3 separate regions of the Homo sapiens genome follow, and regions 1 and 3 are each linked to region 2. The links are contacts of gene promoters, found by promoter capture Hi-C in blood cells and fetal thymus (Javierre and others, 2016). All regions are on one chromosome and are shown on one strand. The core of a region is centred on a gene start or on the middle of the fragment in contact, and the rest is flanking DNA. Distances in the headings are between cores, read along the strand shown.

Region 1 (4,068 bases), core at 1,476-3,975, 450 kb after region 2:
GAGGGGGCAGGGAGGGCTGCTCGTTGGCAAACGATTAATTTTGAGACACTATTGCTCAGGGTCTGAGAGCTTGAACTCTGAATTCGAACTGTTAGCACAATCGTTCTCAACTTCGGGGTGCATAAAAAGTAACTTGAAGGTGGTTAAACGTACAATTTGGGGGGCCTCATCCCCCAAATTTATTTGAATGGAGCAGAGGGGGGTTGTCATCTTTACATTTTCAAATGAGCAGTCCTGGGGCTGAGACTGATTAATGTAACCACTACATTGAGAATTACTGGTCTAACATAAAAGTGTTCAAGATGTTGAAACAAGTGACACCTTGTGCCGTTGATTTCCTTCCCTTTTCCAGAGCTGTGTTGGTGGTGTATCTCAAACTAAAGGAGGTAACAGAATGGACTCTTGGGACGAACCTGATTTAGTTAGAGTTTCCACTCCCATCTTGAACTAGTGGTATAATGTAGGAAAGCAGTTCTCAAAGTGTGGACAGATGACCCATGGGGATCTCCTCTTACCCTTTCAGGGTAGCCTCAAGGTCATAACTATTTTCAAAATAATAGTAAGATGCTATTTATTGTTTTCACTGATACACTGATGGTTCAAAAGCAAGGCTGGGTAAAACTACTGGCGGTACCTTAGCACAAAGCAAGTCAGGGGCACCAAACTACTTGAGAATGCCCTTGAAGCAGTAAAATTTATTATTCTATTTTTATTTTTTTGAGGCGGAGTTTTGCTCTGTCGCCCAGGGTGGAGTGCAGTGGCACTATCTCGGCTCACTGCAATCTCTTCCTCCCTGGTTGTATTTTTAGTAGAGACAGTGTTTCGCCATGTTGGCCAGGCTGGTCTCGAACTCCGGACCTCAGGCGATCCACCTGCCTCGGCGTCCCAAAGTGCTGGGATTACAGGCATGAGCCACCGTGCCCGGCCTATTATTATTAAGTCTTAGCTTTTGACTACATGTCTTTTTAATTTTTAAGAATTTGTGATTAAATAAACATGGATAAAGCATTTATGCTGCCTAGGGAGGTGTGATTGTTGTCATGAAGGAAAAGCATTTGTGAGATTGGGTTGTGAATGAATGGCTTATTTCATGGAGTAGCATTTTTACTTGAAAGAACGACTAGCAGACTATGGTTTTTCACACTTAGTATTTGGCAGATATTTCTTGAAAATGAAGTGAGCTTGTCACTTTTAGGAAAACAACTGACAGTATTTATTACCAGTGATAAAATTTGGGTGAAAATTAGAATTTTTAAAAAGTTGACAGCTGGAGTTTGACAGCTTCCTAGTACTTAAAAGACTTTCCTTATGATATCAGTGGTTAAGGACTGCAATATTTTAAAATGTTGTTTAATGAAATATGTTATTTGGAAGATGGGCATAACTCAGTAAATCTAGGCTTTGCAAATGACCAATGCATGATGTTGCAAAATCAAGCAAAGGCAAAAGATCCTTTGAAAATTCCAGACATAGCAATGGATTTTAACAGTAAAAAAGTGGATTGATGTGGTTTCAGATTCCAAAATGTTAACTGTCCTTTAAGAAACTACTATTTGGCCTAGCGTGGTGGCTCACTCCTGTAATCCCAGCACTTTGGGAGGCCAAGGTGGAAGGATTGTGTGAGCCCAGGAGTTGGAGTTGAGCCTGGTCAGCATAGTGAGACCCTGTCTCTATTTATTAAAAAAAAAAAAAAAAAAAAAAAAGAAAGAAACTACCGTTTGTTGAGTTTTAGTATTTACCAAACACAGTTATCTGAAAAGGTTATTAAAATACTTCTCCCTTTTCCGACTAGATTTTCATTATATACTTAACCAAAGCTACATATAGCAACAGACTGAATGCAGAAGTAACTGTGAGAATCCAACCATCTTTTATCAAGTTAGACATAAAAGAGATTTGCAAAATGCAAAACAACGTTACTTTTCTCACTTTTTGGAGGGAAAGTATTTTTTGTTGAAATGTTATTTATGTTAACTTATAATGGGCTTGTCTTAAAATACATTGATAAATACTACATTTTAAAAATTTGTGGTAAATGTGGAAAGATAAAATTCACATAAACAAAAGATCTTTGGCGTCTTCAATAATTTTAAGAGTCAAAAAAATGAGAATCATTCAGTCAGTCCTATGTTTCTGCTCTTTACATCATTCAAATCTAACTCCCTTGGGGAACTTGGGAGAATTTATAAATAGTTGAAGTTGATGGAAGAGGCAGTGACCTGGGGAAGAATTCTAAAGCAAAAAAAGCTTGCTTTGAATCCTAACTGGGATATTTACTAACTGTAACCTTGAGGAAGTTACTTCGTCTCTCTAAACCACTGTTTTGACCTTATCTGTAAAATAAAAACTTTAGAGCTGGTTGATTACAAATCCTAGAGCTGGTTAATGCCTTTGCCATAATATCAATATGGTAACATTTTGATAGATTCTTTGGTATTCTTGTTTGTGATATTAAGCCATATTCACAAAAACTTGTCTTTTTTTTTTTTTTGAGATGGAGTCTCGCTCTATTGCCCAGGCTGGAGCGTAATGGCGCAATCTCGGCTCACTGCACCCTCCGCCTCCTGGGTTCAAGCGATTCTCCTCCTTCAGCTTCCTCAGTAGCTGGGATTACAGGCACGCGCCACCACACCTGGGTAATTTTTGTATTTTTCTAGAGATGGGGTTTCACCATATTGATCAGGCTGGTCTCAAACTCCTGACCTCTTGATCGACCCGCCTTGGCCTCCCAAAGTGCTGGGATTACAGGCGTGAGCCACCACGCCCAACTGAAAAACGTATTTTTATATGTAACCAAGGGGAGGAGAGCAGAAAAGAGACACTAACCTATTGCTAGGTGTTAGCAGAGTTAAAAGAAATTGAAAGCATAGAAATGGAATTTAGGCAACACACAGCTGTCATTGAAGAAAAGTTTTCCATCATAGTATAGATATTTTTCTTGGGAAAGGGACTCCTGAATATTGAACCCCTTTAAAGAAGAGAACTTGTTGCTTACTTGTTTTAGTAAAGAGCACAGAACTAAATATTTGGGTGTTTCTTGATACAGGATTGGCTACCAGACAAGAGGAAAGTATTTTGAGTTTGGAAATTTTAGGTTATTAAGACTACTTAAAACCCTTATGATTCTTACATATGAGGTACTATAACAGATGTTGTGAGGGACAAAATGGGCTGTGCAAAAGACTGGATAAATAAAAGCTTATTACATGTTTAACTATAGTTTTATACACAGATTAAGTATTCAGCCCTATAGGTTTTCTGGTATTAGTCCTTTTTAGAGCCAAAAATTGAGGTAACTTGAAAACATAATTACCAGTTATGTTGAGGATTATCATTGTTTATTTTTCACCCTGGAACAAGAAAGTGGTATTCTTAAAATGTTTGTTTTCTGTAAAATATTTTTCCTGTTCCAAATGTTCTTTTTATGTTGATTTTTGGGCAGGTATGTACTGGCAGTAAGTTGAAAACGTTAGATACCAAATTCTTCATTTCTGAATTCTTCATTCTTCATTTCTGGACTTTACAGCTATGAAAGAACAAGACAAAGGAATTCAGAGCTTTCAAGAACCAAGTATGTCAGGATAGTTGTGGAAAACAGATCTTTTTCTCATTTTCTTTGAGATGAAGATAGGCAACATTTGCTGCCCATTAAATACCTTAAAAGTATACAGGTGTATCTGCAGGATTCTTTTTGCTGCTTTTAAATAGTATATTGTTTTAAAAGGTCTGTTTTTATCTTGCCTTTACAATTATATAGACTTTTATTGACTAGCTGATCATATAGGGCCTTAGTATAGACTACCATATTCGCCAGCATTTAAGAAATAGTCCCCTTCCCTCCAGGAGAGTATTTATCTGGTACTCCCATATTATGGATTGAAGGATGAGACAAGAGACTGAGTATTGCTAATAGTTCTGTGTGAGCCTGCAGTGTTAAGTAAAACCTATTGAGTGCACAAAAAAATCATGTTACAATTACTACAAAATAGAGAAACCACCTAGGTTACCAAGATGTCAAATAATGGATTAATGGAAGAAAGTAATGTACCTCCTTGGTAGCCTACATAA
Region 2 (3,946 bases), core at 1,071-3,570:
CATACCATTGGCTTATTCGAAGCCTAGTTCTATCAAGATTGAACATTTGTTCCTTGCCTAAACCATACAAGCTTCAAACTCCTTCACTTCCATAGCCTATCAATCCTATTTCTAGACTGTAACCTGCCCTTCCTCTTCCAAATCTGACCAGACATTTTATATGTGCTGTCAACACGAATATCCCAGAGTAAGCCATGCAAGAGTGTGGATGACTTAACTAAATGCACTGCCGCTACTTGAAAAATTTAGAGTTAAAATTTAATGAAGTTTAAACTCAGTGTAACTGACCTCTAATTGCCCTAAGTCTAAGGTCTTTTAAGAAGCTGATAGGTGCCGAGTGCAGTGGCTCATGCTGGTAATCCCAGCACTTTGGGAGGCAGGCAGATCACTTGAGGTCAGGAGTTCAAGACCAGCCTGGCCAACAGGGTGAAACCCCGTCTCTACCAAAAATATAAAAATTAGCCAGATGTGGTGGCACGCGCCTGTAATCCCACCTACTCGGGAGGTTGAGGCAGGGAGAATCGCTTGAACCCTGGAGGCAGAGGTTGCAGTGAGCCAAGATCATGCCACTGCACTTCCAGCCTGGGCAACAGAGTGAGACTCCATCTCAAAAAAACAAAAGGAAGCTGTTAGGTGAGCTATTGGTACATTAATCATATAGACAATCTTAGCAGGGTTGAAGTCTATAGGTATTGATTGATTTGACTACACTGTAAATTGTAAATAGATGCAATTTTAAGTTACCTGAATAAACTTTTCTATTCATTAACAGTAGTCATCTCAATTTTAGAGATTTACGTTATGCTCGTGCCTCCATCTGCACGCACAACATGGGAAGACAACAGACACCAAAGATACTTTGGATTCTTGCTGCTAAGTAAGTATTCAAGCACTACGTGCACGTTGTTACAATTAATAAGGCAATCTGACCCCATCCCTGCCACCAGGAAACTGCAATACTATTAATATATTAAAAAGGAAGACAACTGAGATAAAGGGAATGTGGGAGGTTGGGGGGGGTGCTTAGGAGATATCAGAATACAACCTCTTAGAATTACAGAATCTCAACAACCATCCTTTATGCCTGATCTTCGGTTCAGTAGCTCTAGGATTCCAAGGGGCCCCTCCTAACTGCATTGCCTTCTCTCCCCAATTCCCTTTCTCTCAGAATGTTACACCTTCCCCCAGTTAATAGTGTAGGCTTAAAATGTATCTAGGTGTTCTTACCTACTGACAAACTGCTGGAGTTGTTCATGGGAAAGGAATCAAGGCAAAATATCTAATGCATTCAGGTCATTCGAGTTTTCTTTTTAATTTATTGCTTTTTTGAGATGGGGCATCAGTATGTTGCCCAGGCTGAAGTGCAATAGCAGTATCTCTGCGAGACTCTGTCTCAAAAAAAACCCATTAGAGTCTTCACCTTAGGATGGACTAGGGCTATGGCATACTGGTAAGCATTTAAAAATAAAGGGGTATGATGGCCCGGATTTGCATTATCTGAGTAATGGGAATACTCCAACCCAGTCCGATTTCAAGGTCCCAGTGAGGTTACTGAATTCGAAGCTCAGAAGGTATGCGCCTAGTATTCCCACCATACGAATACAAGCGAGGTAAGTAACCTCAAAAGCATCGATAACAGTAAAATAGTTACAATACCTGTTACGCCTTTAGTATCCATTACCTTCGTTTAATTTAACTGTCAGTTTACATAACAAAAGAGTCTTTTAAGGCGTAAGCGCGCTCCTGGGGAGGGTATGGGGCTGTTGGCAGGGAAAGCAGCTTTTCGATCGTATAAATGCTCTTTGTGCCCAGACTGCCCTCTATAAATCAGCACTATCAACCCTGTCCAGAGACTTGCCCATGACCTCCAAGAAAACACTTTATTCATACTACTCCTAGCGTGCGCTCCTACCCGCCCCAGGGACTTCAGTCTTCCGGGGGAGGGATAACTACTTGGGGACACGGAGCACTGCGTACGCCCTGGGTCATGTGGGAAGGATGACCGCAAAGCCTCCAGTCGGCGCGCGGGTTCCGGGGCTGAGGGGCTGAGGGGCCCAAGGCGATAACCGGGATCCGCTCCGGCCGCGCTCCTCTTGCCTTTGAGAAGCCCCGGAAGTGGCCCGGCTGTTGGCCGCAGCGGGAGGTCTTCGGAAAGAAAAGGCCGGAACCAGAAGATAGACTCAACAGCGATGCCCTACCCGGACCCCGCCGGCCTCACACCCCGGCCAGCCAGCCGCCAGTAGTGCGCACCGCCTCCTCCCCAAGCCCCGCCCTGCGTCCACCCCAGGGGTTAACTCGCACGCGCGCTCTTGTGGCGGAGGTAGAGTGCGCCGTCCAGGGCTAGAGCAAGCGCGGCCCCGCGGCCCGGAGCCATGCTGAGGAGCTGCGCCGCGCGCCTCCGCACGCTGGGGGCTCTGTGCCTGCCGCCAGTAGGCCGGCGCCTGCCGGGAAGCGAGCCGCGACCCGAGCTGGTGAGTCTGGGCACCCTCGGGCATGGGGCGGGAGCAGGACTCAGAAACACGCCTGCGGTAACAGAGCCTTCGATTGTTATCCATACCCCAACCAGCCAATCTCAGAATAAAAGCTCACCTGGGCACCACAGGGCAGCATAAGCAACAGGGGCCTAGGAATACAGTCCTGAGATTCAAACCGTTAGAAAAGGGATGGAAAGGTGACCCCGTTTTTTTGTTTTTTAAGAGACAGGGTCGGCAGGGCGCTACCTGAACTGCATAATTTAGTCTGTCTATTTATATTTTGACAACATCTGTATTTTACCAATAATATTTGAGGCTGTTTTTATTTTTCAAAGATTAAAGTGACGTGAACTAAAAGATACCACAGCTTTTATCTTCCCTTTAAAAAAATATTTGATCCAAACGCTTATCTTCCTTTAGGTCAATTAATTAGAGATCTTTTTATAGACATCACACACAACACATATATAACTACACAGACAGGCAGAAGAAAACCCAGTTGCCATAAGATCTTTCATCACAGGGAGAGGGATCTATCTGCTTTTAATTCCTGGGGTTCCATGAGGAAAACAGAGATCGCCCCTCTTATGCAGGCATTAAAAGTGGCAAGGCAAAATGGAGAAAAATAACTCAGTCGACCGCAAAGAAACACTTTTTCCAGCAAAATAAGGTCCAAGAAAAGGAAAACATAAAGGCCTTATAAATATAATTACAACTTAGATATCTACTTTTAATTAAGCTGAGCACTCCTTAAGAAAATTCTTTTAACACCCTTATTATCTAACTTTAGCTCCACCAAGCGGCCAATATTTCTGGCTTTCAAACTTTACTTAAAGGCTCAGAGAAAGGAAAATCCAAGGTGGTTGGTGGAGGGCAGGGGAATCGACAAATAGCGAAAGGGCATACAGATACCAAACCAGAAAGGACTCATTCCCTAAGCCAGGATGAATCTGGGCCATGCCGGGCTAAACGAAGCTATGCAATGGGGTTACAGGCCACGCCCCCAAGGACGTAAAACAAGATGGAGGCCTGCAGCGAAGTTTGCTGTGGAGCATACAGAAAGACATGCAAAACACACAGATTGGCTACAGCTTACGACTTACCTCACAAATCCTTTCGCACAAAACTTTACAGAAAATATAAACGGTAATCCTCATCATTCCCAAAAGAGCAAAACGTCTTCCAAAAGGAAAAGAAAAACCTCCTTTAAAAGTATACTGCTGATGGGTTGGAGAGGAGATAAGGATGCCTGGGGGAAGAACCTCTTATTCCTATGCAAATGGTTCCTCCACCAGAGAGAGGAGCTTAATTGCTGTGGGACAGAGCTAGACTCCCTGGAATGGGGAGGGGGAGACTGCAGGCACCTGGTAGGGAACGCCAGCCAGCCATGCCGGCGCCTTGGAGCCTGGGCAGTGGCTGTGGCTCATTTATGCCCTGTGTGGCTACTGGACACCACACACACATGCTGCAGA
Region 3 (3,698 bases), core at 478-2,977, 500 kb after region 2:
CTTAACCTGATGCTTGTACATTAGAAATTGCTTAATAAGTGTTTTTATTATTGATGTTGCATGACAGCTGTGAAAATAGAGCTGATAAATAGGTTATAGGAGAAAGAGTGAATGAGATTGCCCAGGGAAAACATAGACTAAGAAAGGCCTGGACAAAATATTGCTTAAAGGTGTTCTAGAAGAGAAAAATGAGAGAGGTAAACAAATCGGGGGGTGAGTGGAAAAGAGATAATATCGTTATGTTGCTAGTTAACTGTTTCCCAAACATGTGGTTAACTTTCATACCTACTTGCCTTTCCTCCTGCTTTTCTCTTGGTCCTCTCTCTGGCTGGCTGAGCCCCATTCTTTGACAATTCAGCTTTTATATGTTGTTATAGCTTTTCCTCATTCCTTTATGCAGAATTTCTTATTTATCCATGTCCTCATAGCACCTAATGTACCTGTAGACAGTGTTTCTAAATGGAGTTGCAGACCTCTTTGAGAATAAATATGAAATGTTTGAATCCTCTTCCTAGAAAAATCTACATTTTACTCTTTTGCAAATAATTTCAGAGAAAGCCTGGATTCCTAGAGGCCTGTTCCATAGACCCCAGATTAAGAACCCCTGGCTTTTGTTTGTTTGTTTTACTTTAAAAAATTACTTGGCTAGGCACAGTGGCTCATACCTGTAATTCTGGTACTTTGGGAGGCTGAGATGGGAGGATTGCTTGAGCTTGGGAGGTCAGGGTTGCAGTGAGCCATGATTGAGCCACTGCGCTCTAGCGTGCGAGACAGAACGAGACTCTGTCTCAAAACAAAAATCCAGGGTTCTCGGTAGTTAAAAAAAGAAAAAAGAATTATTTCAACTTTATTCATATTTCTTTGGCTGGGGTGTAGGGGGCTGGGGGCGGGGGGAGGTTAGACATTGTCCAGTAAATGCCCAAGGCTTTAAGCTTCCAGTTTTCATATTTGCAAAAACTTGAAACTAATTCCATTAAAGTGACAAAAATGTAAATAATCTCTCTCTTTTTGCCATACTGTATAATTAAAAATATGTAGCAGTTAAAAGTCTTACCAAAATTGGCCGGTGCACTGGCTCACACCTGTAATTCTAGCACTTTGGGAGACTGAAGTGGATTGACAAAAGGATTGCTTGAGGCCAGGAGTTTCCGACCAGCCTGGGCAACATGGCGAGACCCTGTCCCTACAAAAAAAAATTTTTTTTAATTACTTGGGCATGGTGGTGCACCACTGTAGTCCTAGCTACTTGGGAGGCTGAAACAGGAGGCTCGCTTGAGCTCAAAGGATAGTCCTAGCTACTCAGGAGGCTGCGGTGAGCTATGATCATGCTCCAGCCTGAGCAACAGTGAGATTCTGTCTCTTAAAAAAAAAAAAAAAAAAAAAAGCCCAGGCACGGTGGCTCACACCTATAATCCCAGCACTTTGGGAGGCTGGGACAGGTAGATCACCTGAGGTCAGGAGTTCGAGACCAACCTGGCCAACATGAAATTACCAAAAATTGTCTCAGAAGTTTGACAAAATTGTTCATTTGTGTCATAAAATTTTGTCAAAATTTTTTCTCATAAGCTTGACAAAATGGACAATTTCAAAGAGAGTAGGAGGTATTGGAGGCCAGCTGATTAGCAGTGGGAAATCATATGGGCTAGTACCAAGTTTTTGCCTTATTATAAGTATAGAGAAGTGACAGTTCCTACATGCAGTTTGAAATAATGGTGACAGAATGCAGGGTTTGGAATCCGAGATAGTGCCTAAATTTTGAGCTCAGGAAGAAATGGGGAAAGGAAAAAGGGAAACAGTGGTAAGACAGGAGGATGCTGAATTAGGTTAGAGTTGACGATAGAATAACCAATTTAAAATGTCTTATAGATAAAATCTAGAATGAAGCTTTGGTAAGAAGTCTGAGCTACGTACATAAGATTATCAGCAACATATATGTTAAGGTGGAGCCATTTAAAGAAAGAACAGAAGGGACCTATGATTTACTGATTGTTGAAAATCAAAATAAAGGAGGCAGAGAAAATAAAGATTGTGAGTCAGCAGGACTTTTGTCTTATTTTCAAGTGGATTTATTGATTACTTTTCTTCTTACAGCCAAGTGCAAGATCTGTGAATGGGCGTTTGAAAGTGAGCCACTATTTCTCCAGCATATGAAGGATACTCATAAGCCTGGAGAGATGCCTTATGTTTGCCAGGTATTGCCTTTTTCTCCAGGGAGTTTTAGCAGTTTTGCCCTCAGGAAGAATACAAAGAATTTACTAATGAATATTGTTGACCACCTACTGCATACACTCAGTTTAGGAACTCTGAGTAGGTACAGAAGAAATAGTAAACACAGTTTATCTTCAGGGTTTCCATGCAGGAGAAAAACATAAAAGAACATGTCCACAAGTAGACTAGCCGGGAACATGTGCATATTCTAAGGGAGTGTCTGTCTCCTGAACGTGCCCTTTGGAAATTGACAGAAAAGGCTTTATTTTTCTTAGTTAGAGAACATGGATTATTCTTAGACTTTCTGTCCCTTCCTATTTTTAAAGTAATAGCTAAACCTATCACAAACATAGCCCAGCATTACAAAGTCAGGAAAATAATTTGATTTCTATGCATTTGAGAAAACTTTTTTTTTTTAATTTAAAAATTTTTGTTGCTACCTTTTTTTTTAAGGCCTCTCAGTTGTTCACTTCATTCTTAGCCTTATTTTCCCTCCTATGTGACTCAGGTGTGTCAATATCGCTCCTCACTCTACTCTGAGGTAGATGTCCATTTTCGGATGATCCATGAGGATACCCGGCATCTGCTCTGCCCTTATTGCCTGAAGGTCTTCAAAAATGGCAATGCATTCCAACAGCATTACATGAGGCACCAGGTACTAGGCACCAAGCAATTCCCATATTCTCTTGTTTTTTTTTTTTTTAAACATGGATGCTGGGGCCAGGGCTGAGCTAGGCAAATAATTTGGGCAGAGATTATAATATGCATATGTTTGCAGAAATTTATTGAATTCACTTAATGTGCCATGTACTAGTCTAGATGCTAGAGATTTAGTAGTAAACAAGGCAAACAATACAATAAAACATGAAGAGTACTGTGTTGGGGAAATTATAGGATATAGAAAATCACATAGCTATTCTGGGTGCCTAGTAAGGCTTCCAGAAAGAAGTGTTGTTCAATACCTGAGGGATGAATAAGAATGAGCCAGATGAAATAAGACGAAGAACAGTGTGCCCAAGGCACAAAGCAAAATTGTGGAGGTTCAAGAAATTGAGAGAGATTCAGTGTAGGGTGTAAGAGACAGAGGGGTTGGAAGTTAGGCAGGGACAGATCATGGAGGATCTTTTAAGCCATGAAAAGAATTCACTGGGAAGCCACTAAAGGGGTTTTAAGCCCTGGAGTGATGTGTTCAGCTTTAGTTAAGGCTTTATACTGCCTGCACTGCAGAGAATGGATTAAAGGAGATTGAGACTACAGTTAGGGAAACTAGCTAGAAGGCCTTTTTCAGTAGTTTAGGTGAGAGATGATAGTGGCTATTGGCTTTTGAAATAAAAAGAGGGTAGAGTTGAGAGATATTCAGAAGATTTGTGATATTTATGATGTAGAGATGGATTAGGTGAAGGTAGCAATGCAGTAGTTAAGAATAGTGCCTAAGATTCTGTCTTGGGCAGTTGGGTGAATGAGGGAACTATTTGCTGAAATAGAAACAA

The links. The method cuts DNA at HindIII sites, captures the fragments that hold promoters and counts their contacts. A CHiCAGO score of 5 or more calls a contact.
Region 1: a fragment that was not itself captured here is called in contact with the fragment with the promoter of THEM4 in region 2 in 4 of 17 cell types (naive CD4 T cells, megakaryocytes, non-activated CD4 T cells and 1 more); the score reaches 6.9 in naive CD4 T cells.
Region 3: a fragment that was not itself captured here is called in contact with the fragment with the promoter of THEM4 in region 2 in 1 of 17 cell types (total CD4 T cells); the score reaches 5.2 in total CD4 T cells.

The regions. Positions count from the first base shown.
Region 1 is chr1:151,453,530-151,457,597 of GRCh38, reverse strand. All of the region lies in intron 1 of POGZ (pogo transposable element derived with ZNF domain), which reads left to right. Among named protein-coding and RNA genes, the nearest start is that of POGZ, 3.9 kb to the left of the region's middle. The HindIII fragment of the contact is 951 bases long and covers 2,250-3,200 here.
Region 2 is chr1:151,907,885-151,911,830 of GRCh38, reverse strand. It overlaps THEM4 (thioesterase superfamily member 4), which reads left to right and starts at 2,320. Exons shown (of 6, transcript NM_053055.5): 1 at 2,320-2,471. The coding sequence starts at 2,373. RefSeq lists enhancers at 1,348-1,935, 1,924-2,043 and a silencer at 2,284-2,593. The HindIII fragment of the contact is 4,270 bases long and covers 74-3,946 here.
Region 3 is chr1:151,410,790-151,414,487 of GRCh38, reverse strand. It overlaps POGZ (pogo transposable element derived with ZNF domain), which reads left to right. Exons shown (of 19, transcript NM_015100.4): 11 at 2,092-2,192; 12 at 2,717-2,863. Among named protein-coding and RNA genes, the nearest start is that of PSMB4, 13 kb to the right of the region's middle. The HindIII fragment of the contact is 318 bases long and covers 1,569-1,886 here.